Regions from separate parts of the Homo sapiens genome. Here all the other regions are linked to region 3. The links are contacts of gene promoters, found by promoter capture Hi-C in blood cells and fetal thymus (Javierre and others, 2016). All regions are on one chromosome and are shown on one strand. The core of a region is centred on a gene start or on the middle of the fragment in contact, and the rest is flanking DNA. Distances in the headings are between cores, read along the strand shown. Region 1 overlaps RYR1 (ryanodine receptor 1). Region 2 overlaps RYR1 (ryanodine receptor 1). Region 3 holds the start of LGALS7B (galectin 7B).

Region 1 (2,833 bases), core at 332-2,831, 340 kb before region 3:
ATCCTAGCACTTTGGGAGGCCCAGGCGGTTGGATCACCTGAGGTCAGGAGTTTGAGACCAGCCTGGCCAACATGGTGAAACCCTGTCTCTACTAAAAATACAAAAATTAGCCAGGCGTGGTGGCAGCTGCCTGTAATCCCAGCTACTCAGGAGGCTGAGGCAGGAGAATTGCTTGAACCTGGGAAGTGGAGGTTGGGAGTGAGCCAATATCGTGCCATTGCACTCCAGCCTGGCTGACAAGAGTGAAACTCCGTCTCAGAAAAACAAAAACAAAACAAAACAAAAACAAAAACAGAGAGAGTGAGAAAAAGATGGATAATGACCAACTGAGAATAACTTTCAACAAACAATTACTGAGTACCCGCGTTGTTCTGGTTGTGTGTGCAGAAAATAGATGAGCTGTAGCGACCTGTTCCCTGCCCTCCCAGTGCTCAGAAATTGTGAACAAACTGCCTTTAGTGAAGTACATAGTTTTACAATTAAGGAGTGGGAAAACTATTTTTGGCAGCAGGAACAGCATGTGCAAAGGTCCTGAGGTTAACATGAGCTTGGCTTGTTGCAGTAGCAGAAAGAAGCCACAGTGTGGAACAGGGTGAGCAGGCTGGAGTAGTGGTTGGTGAGGAAAGAGAGGGGATGGGAACAGCTCGTGTGAGGCCTTGTGGGCCATGGGAGAGGTCTAGTTTTGTTTGTTTGTTTGTTTTTTGTAGAGACGAGGTCTCATTATATTACACAGGCTGGTCTCAAACTCCTGGGGCTCAAGTGATCCTCCTGCCTCAGCCTCCCAAAGTGCTGAGATTAAAGTGAAGTGTGAGCCACTGCTCCTGGCCAGGTTCTAGTTTTTATCCTGAGTGAGATGGGCTCACAGGAGATTTTGAGCAGGGCAGGGAAGTGACCTGACGCAGGATCACAGAATTCTTAGGCTGTCTCTGGGAACAGACTACGGTCAGGGGACAGAGCCAGAGCAGGGAGACCAGAGAAGAGACTGCCATGATGTTACAAATGGGAGATGACAGTGGACAGGACCAGGAGGGGACTGTGGAGTTGGGAAGAGTAGTAGATTCTGGTGGGGTCCTGAGGGTAGAGCCAACAGGATTTGCTGACAGATTGGCTGTGGGGTGAGAGAAGGGGAGGGGTTGAGGATGATGCCATGATTTTTTGCCCCAAGCAACTGGAAGGATGGAAGTGCTGAAACAGCCTCATTGTCTGGAGTATCACCCAAGGTTTGTGGTCTCACAGCCACAGAGAACAAGGACGCAGACACACAAAGAGTGAGGTTAAGAGGGGACATTTAATAGGCGAAAGAAGGAGCTCTCTACTGCAGAGAAGGGTCCCAGAAAAATGGGTTGAAATGCAGGGGGTTCCATGGTGAAATGCAGGGGGCTTTACAGATGAGCTGGTGGGGAGGTGGTATCTGATTTACCTAGGGTGCAAAAGACTGGTTGGACCAGTTGTGCCATTTGCATAGGGCACAAATTTCTGGCTGCCTCCACCCTAAGCTTTTATTGTACAAGCGGGTCCTCTGCCTGAGCTGGCCATGTTGCCCATTCCTTTTCTGTACAACGTGGAAACAATAAATAAATAAATAACTAAATAAAGGGAAGATGGAGCCTCCATGTTGGACATGCGTAGCCCCAGGTATACCTTTTCTATCGGCACATTCCCCCATGCAAGCTTGTAGCTCGATTTTCCAGGCTGCTCTTTGTTAGAAAAGAAATTATTTTGGGGGCTGCTTTCCGTTAGAAAGGAAACTCTGCCGAGGACTCTGTTGCCCTTACTCTCTGCCTAAATAATTTTTTTCTACCTCTTGTATCAGTGCCATCAACCAAGTTAGGGGACAGTCAGTGTTGGCTCAGAAGGACAGGGATCTTAGGCTTTACTGCCAGTGCCTAGAACAGAGCCACTTACTACAGCCTTGCTGAATGGACAAGTAGGAATCCTTGGGGAGGCACTCGTTTGCAAAAACAGGCCTGTAGTTGAATACATGAGCCAAGGGCGTAGAGACGGGGCCTGGGCCATGTCCAAAGTGGGGACACGTGAGCATCATCAGCAGGTGGATGGTGTTTACAGCCGCAGACTGGATGAGTTCTGGGGAGGTCGGCTTGGGGTGAAGCTGGCAGCCATGATGGTCTCACCTCGTGGAAAGGTGGTCTGGCATTCTATCTGGGACAGGTTCAATTTGGGGGTTAGAGCTTTCTGGTCGGGGGGAATGTTAAGTCAGCAGTAGGTACAGGTGGAAAGGGTCTGGCCTGGAGACAGAGACAGGAAGGAGATAGGGATAGAGAGATAGAGAGGGAGAGGCAGGGACAGAGGTGAGAGAGATAGAGAGACAAAGACAGACAAAACCAAAAACAGGGACAGAGAGAGACAGAGAGGAGAGAGAGAATCAAAGACACAGAGGAGACAGATGACGGGGGACAGAAAAATGAGGAGGAATTTGCAGTGAGATTCTGCAGAGCAGGGAGGAGGGGGCAAGTGCAGAACTCAAGTCTAGACAGACGTCTTGGGGGCATGGCCCTGGGTGGCTGGGCCCACTCCAGACCTCTGTCTCCCCACTCCTAGGCCATGCTGCACCAGGAGGGCCACATGGACGACGCACTGTCGCTGACCCGCTGCCAGCAGGAGGAGTCCCAGGCCGCCCGCATGATCCACAGCACCAATGGCCTATACAACCAGTTCATCAAGTGAGCAACCTGCCCTCCCTGCTGGGGTGACTCCTGTGCTGTCCCATGCTCCGGGCATCCATACACTTGGCCTCTTTCATCTCTACCTCTGTTGCCCACACCCTTGTCTAACATATACATGGGCCAAGCGCAGTGGCTCACACCTGTAATCC
Region 2 (2,819 bases), core at 1-2,500, 260 kb before region 3:
TGCAACACTGCTTCCCCCACCAGAACTTCAAGCGCGAGGAGCAGAACTTTGTGGTCCAGAATGAGATCAACAACATGTCCTTCCTGACTGCTGACAACAAAAGCAAAATGGCTAAGGTCGGGGCTTGGTTCTGGGAGGAGCACTTGGCAGAGAGGGCGGGAGCACCCTCTAGGACTTCCTACCTGGCCTGTCCTCACCCAGCCAGCCCGTCCTGGGCGCAATCCCTGCAGTCCTCAGAGCAGCCCCTCTTACCTCCTCTCCCTCTCCCTTCCTCCCCAGCTCCTTCCTCCTCCTGTATCTTCTCCCTCCTCCCATCTCCCTCCTCCTCTCCATCTCCCTCTTCTCTCATCTCTGTCTCCTTCCTCCTCCTGTATCTTCTCCCTCCTCCCATTTCCCTCCTCTCCATTTTCCTCTTCTCCAAGCCTCTCTCTCCTCCCATTTCCCTCCTCCTCCTCCTCCCCATTTTCCCCCTCTTCCATTTCTTTCTTCCTCTCCCCATTACCCCATTTCCTGCTTTCCTCCCTATCCTTCTCAGCACTGCCCTTCTCAGGTCTCAGAGAACGACCCCCCACCCCGAGCCAAGGCCTGGAAATGCCCAGCTAGAGAATACATGGCGGGTGGGGCAGAGGAGGTGGGGTGCTGGCAACTTGGAGTTGGGCCTGGGCTTCTCTGCGGGGCTGGGGTAACCCTTCTTGTCTCTGTCTGCGGTCCGGTGAAGCAGGCGGGAGATATACAGGTCAGCCCCACATCTGGGACCTTCCGCATGTCTCTTGGCTAATGCCCTCTTCCCCCAGCCTCTGCACGCCCCCGCCTCGAGAAAACCCCTGCTTCTGTTCCCCACCCCCGTCCTCCCCTCCCAGCCCCCACCCATCCTCCTTCCCTTCCCTTCCCTCCCCACCACCCCCATCCGTTCCCATCCCAACCCTCAGCTTTTGGCAATTTGACTTCTTTTCTTTTTCTTCTTTCCTTTTTTTTTTCTGGACTTTTGTTCCCAAAAAAAAAAAAAAAAAGAAAAAAAGAGCAACTCTCAGCTTTTACCAAAGCATCGTGGGCTGAGGTCAAGGGTAATGGGGGTGGGAGAGGCACACGGAGCATGGTTGGGGAGGGGGCAGCACCCTCGCCGTGGATGGTTTAAAGCTTGGGCTCTGGACTGTATGGACTGGGGTTAGAATCCTGTCTTGATAGTTAGCCGTGTGACCTTGGTTGGGGTCATCCTTTTGAGCCTCTGAGGGCATCCAGCCAGCAGCCCCCACCCCAGGGCTCTGCGAGGACTCAGGGAGAAGCTGCATGTGTGGCCTGCAGCAGTGCCTGGCACAGGGGTCATGCTCAAAGTTGCCAGCCGGCGTGGATGTGGCTCTGCCCAAAAGCTTGTCATCAGGGCTTCTCGCTGGCGTGACTGGGGTGGCCCTGGCCCCGGGTCTGCACCCAAGGCTCCAGAACACGGCTGTGGGACTCTGTGCCCTGTGTCTCTGCTTCCAGATCTTTCTGGATGTCTCTTGCATCTTTGGTCTTCCTGTCTCCTTGTCTTTTTCAGTCTCTCAGTGTCTTTTTCTTGCAACTTCTCTTGTCGCTTGAACTCTTTGTGGACCTGCATCTTTGTTTCATTCTTGAGAACTTGGTTTTGGGATGTGAAGTGTGGGGTTGTGCATGCTGTGGAGGGGGTATTGTACTGGGGTTCCTAGGGGATTCTGGAAGAGGACTGCTAGAAGTTGAGACAGGCCCAGAACGGGGGAAAATCTGGATGGGCCTGGGTTAGAAATTGGAGCCAGGCAAGCATGGTGGTATGTGCCTGTAGTCCCAGCTACTTGGGAGGCTGAGGCAGGAGGATCACTTGAAGCCAAGAGTTCAAGTCCAGCCTGGGCAACATGGCAAGACACCATCTCTAAAAATAAATTTGTTTAAAAAACAAGAAACTGGGAATTTGGGTTGTGGACTTGGGTCTGGAGGGTCTCCGGTCATGGCTGTGGGCCTGAAGTGTAGAGTCAGCAAGTCTGGGGTGGAAATTGAGGTGTCGTCGGCAGTTGGGGAGGGAGTGCCTGGTGTCCAGACTGGGGCCTGGGGTGTGGATGATGGCCGCGGGTTGGGGCTGAGGCATGGGATTGGGGCTTGGGCTGGTGCTGAGCCCTGTGTCCCCACAGTCCGGTGGCTCGGACCAGGAACGCACCAAGAAGAAGCGCCGGGGGGACCGGTACTCTGTGCAGACGTCACTGATCGTGGCCACACTGAAGAAGATGCTGCCCATCGGCCTGAATATGTGTGCGCCCACCGACCAAGACCTCATCACGCTGGCCAAGACCCGTTACGCCCTGGTGCCTGCCCAGCCCCGTCCTCGGAACCTTCCAGGATGCCGCCCAGCACCCACTGAACCCCTGGGACCTTAGGGAACAACCACAATGCCACTGAGCCCCCCAGGTCCCTGGGAGCCTTCCCTTCAGACCCCACTGAGTTCTTTTCCGGGATGCTGAGGACTCACTGTGCCCCTGGGATGCCCTGAGGACCCCGTTCAAGATATTGCCAGGGCACCACAGACCTAAGAGCCCTCACTGAAACCTAGAAAAGCTCTAGGACCCCTGGGACCCGCATGAGGACTGCAGGACCCCACTGCCCCCCCACCGGACCATGCCAAACCTGCTGAGACCCTGAGAGTCCCCCCAACAAGATGAGCCCCTGAGATCCTCTGAACCCTCCACCAAGGCCCCTTCAAGCCCCTTGGGACCTACTGAGACCCTCATGACCCCTCCTTCCCTCCCTGCCAAGACTGAACCTCTGGGTTCCTGCTGAGCCCTTGGCTCACCATCCCTTTCCTTCAGGACCCTGCT
Region 3 (2,700 bases), core at 154-2,653:
TCACTACAACGTCCGCCTCCCCAGCTCAAGCAATTCTCCTGCCTCAGCCTCCCAGGTAGCTGGGATTACAGGTGTCCACCACCACACCTGGCCAATTTTTTGTATTTTCTATAGAGAAGGGGTTTCACCATGTTGGCCAGGCTGGTCTTGAACTCCTGACCTCAAGTGATCCACCTACCTTGGCCTCCCAAAGTGCTGGGATTACAGGCGTGAGCTACCATGCCCAGCCAGGAGTGGTTTCTGTTCAGCTCCCACACCATCCCTGCCTTTCAGAAACAGATTTCAGTCCTGCCCGCCCCCCCCCCCCCCCCCGCCTCCCCCAGTCTACTTCCCCAACCCTGGATTCTCTTCTAGAGTCTTGGGCCCAAGCGGGCTATATTGGGGCTGGCGGGAGGGTCCCCACCTTGCTCTGCTTTTGATCTAGGTGGTGATGGAATGCTAGGCCACCCACCACCCTAAAACCCACCTCATCCTGACCTGCAAAATTGGTGGGAAGATGGTAACAGTCCTGGAAGGAGGAACAAGAGAGACTTGAAGGAGAGAAGTGGGACAGGAATACGCGGTAGACAGTTATAGACAGAGACAAACAGAGCCAGACAGCCAGCCCCAGAGACAGAACCCACAGGAGAGGCACGCCCAGAGGTGAGGAAAGGCAGAGGTTGGGGCAATGGGTCCTGCCCGGCTTGTGGAAAATCACTTCCCATCCCAGCCTCAGCCTCCTTCTCTGTACAATGGGGGTGACCCATGCTTCTCTCTGTTGGAATGGTGGGGTCCCAATCAGTGATTTCCTGCATATCCTGGGCAGCCCAAGGGCCTGGGAAATGACAAGCGTAGTCCTAGTGGATCCCCTCCTTTCACCCCTCCTGACTGAGGACTTCCCATGAACCCGGCACACTCCAGGACCCAGGGGTGCAGCACTGAGCCAACCAGGCCGCCCTCCGACCCTGTGAAGTCCCCCTGTCTGGCACTATCGTCGTTGTTGTGGCTGCTGTTCCACTGGAGACTTAGAAGCAGGGATTTCAGCGCAGACATTTCCAGTCTAGGCAGGAGGTTCTCAGCTGGAGAGAAGGGTCTAGAGTTCCCGCTGGGCTTGGCTTCTCAGGACCCAACATGTCTGTGGATAAAATGAGCATGAGAGACTCTCCTGTGTGCCAGGCAGTGGGAAGACAGGGGTGGAGGGGCGGTGGCTCTTATTATCAGCTCCTAGGAGAGGGGCAGTGCACCCGGGCTCTGGGTGATGGGGGGATCAGGGCCCCCAAGAAGAGGCGCCACTCCCACTTCGCCAGGCTTGCCCCAGGGCCAGGGTCCGTGCCAGGTGTGGGTGGTGGGTGGGAAGGGGTGGGGTGAGTCATCAGGGCCAGCCCCGCCCTGCTTTTATTTAAGGTCCCCAGCAGGCCCCACCACCACGGCTGCCCAACCCGGTCCCAGCCATGTCCGTGAGTGCTCCAGGGGCCCGGGGCGGGGCCAAGCAGGGAGGGGGCTGGGGGCTCCTCTTTCAAAGGAGCAAGTGGGCAGTGAGTGTGCCACGGACTGGCCTGGGCTGTGGCCTCCGGGTAACCCCCATCCCGACTGTCCCCTCTACCTCTTTGTGGCTTCCTCTGGGGCCCTCTTTGAGGATCTTTCTGTTTGTCTTTGTTGCTCTCCCCATCTGTTTCCCTGTCTGTTTCTGGTCTCTTTCCTGCCTCTCCGCCACCCTTTCCTCTTCCACTGATTTCTGCCAGTCTCAGCCCTGGTCGGCTCCTCTGAGGGGTGACCCACCTTCTGCCTCCCTCCTTCGGTCTCACCGGCTCACAGTGGCCCCTGCACCCCACTCTTGCAGAACGTCCCCCACAAGTCCTCACTGCCCGAGGGCATCCGCCCTGGCACGGTGCTGAGAATTCGCGGCTTGGTTCCTCCCAATGCCAGCAGGTGAGGCCCCAGGCCCTAGGGGTAAAGGGTACAGGTCTCAGGATCAGCTGACTCCCAATTTTTGCAGTCCAGAAGTAGGGGCCCGAGGCCACCTGTATCCACCAGGCTAGGAGTCCGAGGCCATTTCTGACCTCAAATCTGATGTATTCGTATTTGCCCCCGTGCCTTTGTGGCTGGGGTCCCTAAGTTTCCCTAAGCATTTGAGGTCCCTGGGTAATCTCAGGGTTCCTAGATATAGTCCTATGACTTCCATGTCTGAGTCCCAGGGAACTCTGGAAATACTCCAAGTCCTGGAGACACCCTGGACCCTGGGAGTCCTTGCCAAGCCATCCTTTGACTTCCTGGCTAAGGAACTTCGGGCCTTCTGGATTCTGAGGTACCCTGGAAATACTGGGGTTCCTGGTATTATTCTTTGTCCTGTAGAAGCTGAGGGTTCCCTGAGCATCAGGAGCACCCTGGCTATCACCCAGACCTCCTGGGCAGCTCCCAGGCTCTTTGGAAATGAGGGCACCCTGCCCTAAGCGTAGTGAGTTTGGTCTGGGTAGGTTTCTGCCAAGGGCCTCATGATATTTTGGCTGCCTTGGGAATCTAAGCTCCCTGGTCATTAGTCGCCCACCTCTCCTTCTGCGGTGTGTGCCTGTCTTCAGGTCCCTGTTAATTTGGGGGTACTCTGGGAATGGGGAGTGCCAGCCCATAAGACCTTCACTTTGGTCTGGGCGGTTTATGTTTTGTTTGTTCTTTCGTTTTTTTGTAAGGTGGGGTCTCGCTATGTTGCCCAGGCTGGTCTTTAAC

Evidence for each region. The method cuts DNA at HindIII sites, captures the fragments that hold promoters and counts their contacts. A CHiCAGO score of 5 or more calls a contact.
Region 1: a contact is called between a fragment that was not itself captured here and the fragment with the promoter of LGALS7B in region 3, in 2 of 17 cell types (erythroblasts and activated CD4 T cells). The highest score is 6.3, in erythroblasts.
Region 2: a contact is called between a fragment that was not itself captured here and the fragment with the promoter of LGALS7B in region 3, in 1 of 17 cell types (non-activated CD4 T cells). The highest score is 6.1, in non-activated CD4 T cells.

The regions. Positions count from the first base shown.
Region 1 is chr19:38,449,205-38,452,037 of GRCh38, forward strand. RYR1 (ryanodine receptor 1) reads left to right here. Exons shown (of 106, transcript NM_000540.3): 12 at 2,560-2,681. Among named protein-coding and RNA genes, the nearest start is that of RYR1, 17 kb to the left of the region's middle. The HindIII fragment of the contact is 175 bases long and covers 1,495-1,669 here.
Region 2 is chr19:38,523,194-38,526,012 of GRCh38, forward strand. RYR1 (ryanodine receptor 1) reads left to right here. Exons shown (of 106, transcript NM_000540.3): 69 at 24-116; 70 at 722-736; 71 at 2,139-2,309. Among named protein-coding and RNA genes, the nearest start is that of MAP4K1-AS1, 72 kb to the right of the region's middle. The HindIII fragment of the contact is 230 bases long and covers 1,136-1,365 here.
Region 3 is chr19:38,787,797-38,790,496 of GRCh38, forward strand. It overlaps LGALS7B (galectin 7B), which reads left to right and starts at 1,404. Exons shown (of 4, transcript NM_001042507.4): 1 at 1,404-1,436; 2 at 1,820-1,908. The coding sequence starts at 1,431. The HindIII fragment of the contact is 12,505 bases long and covers 1-2,700 here.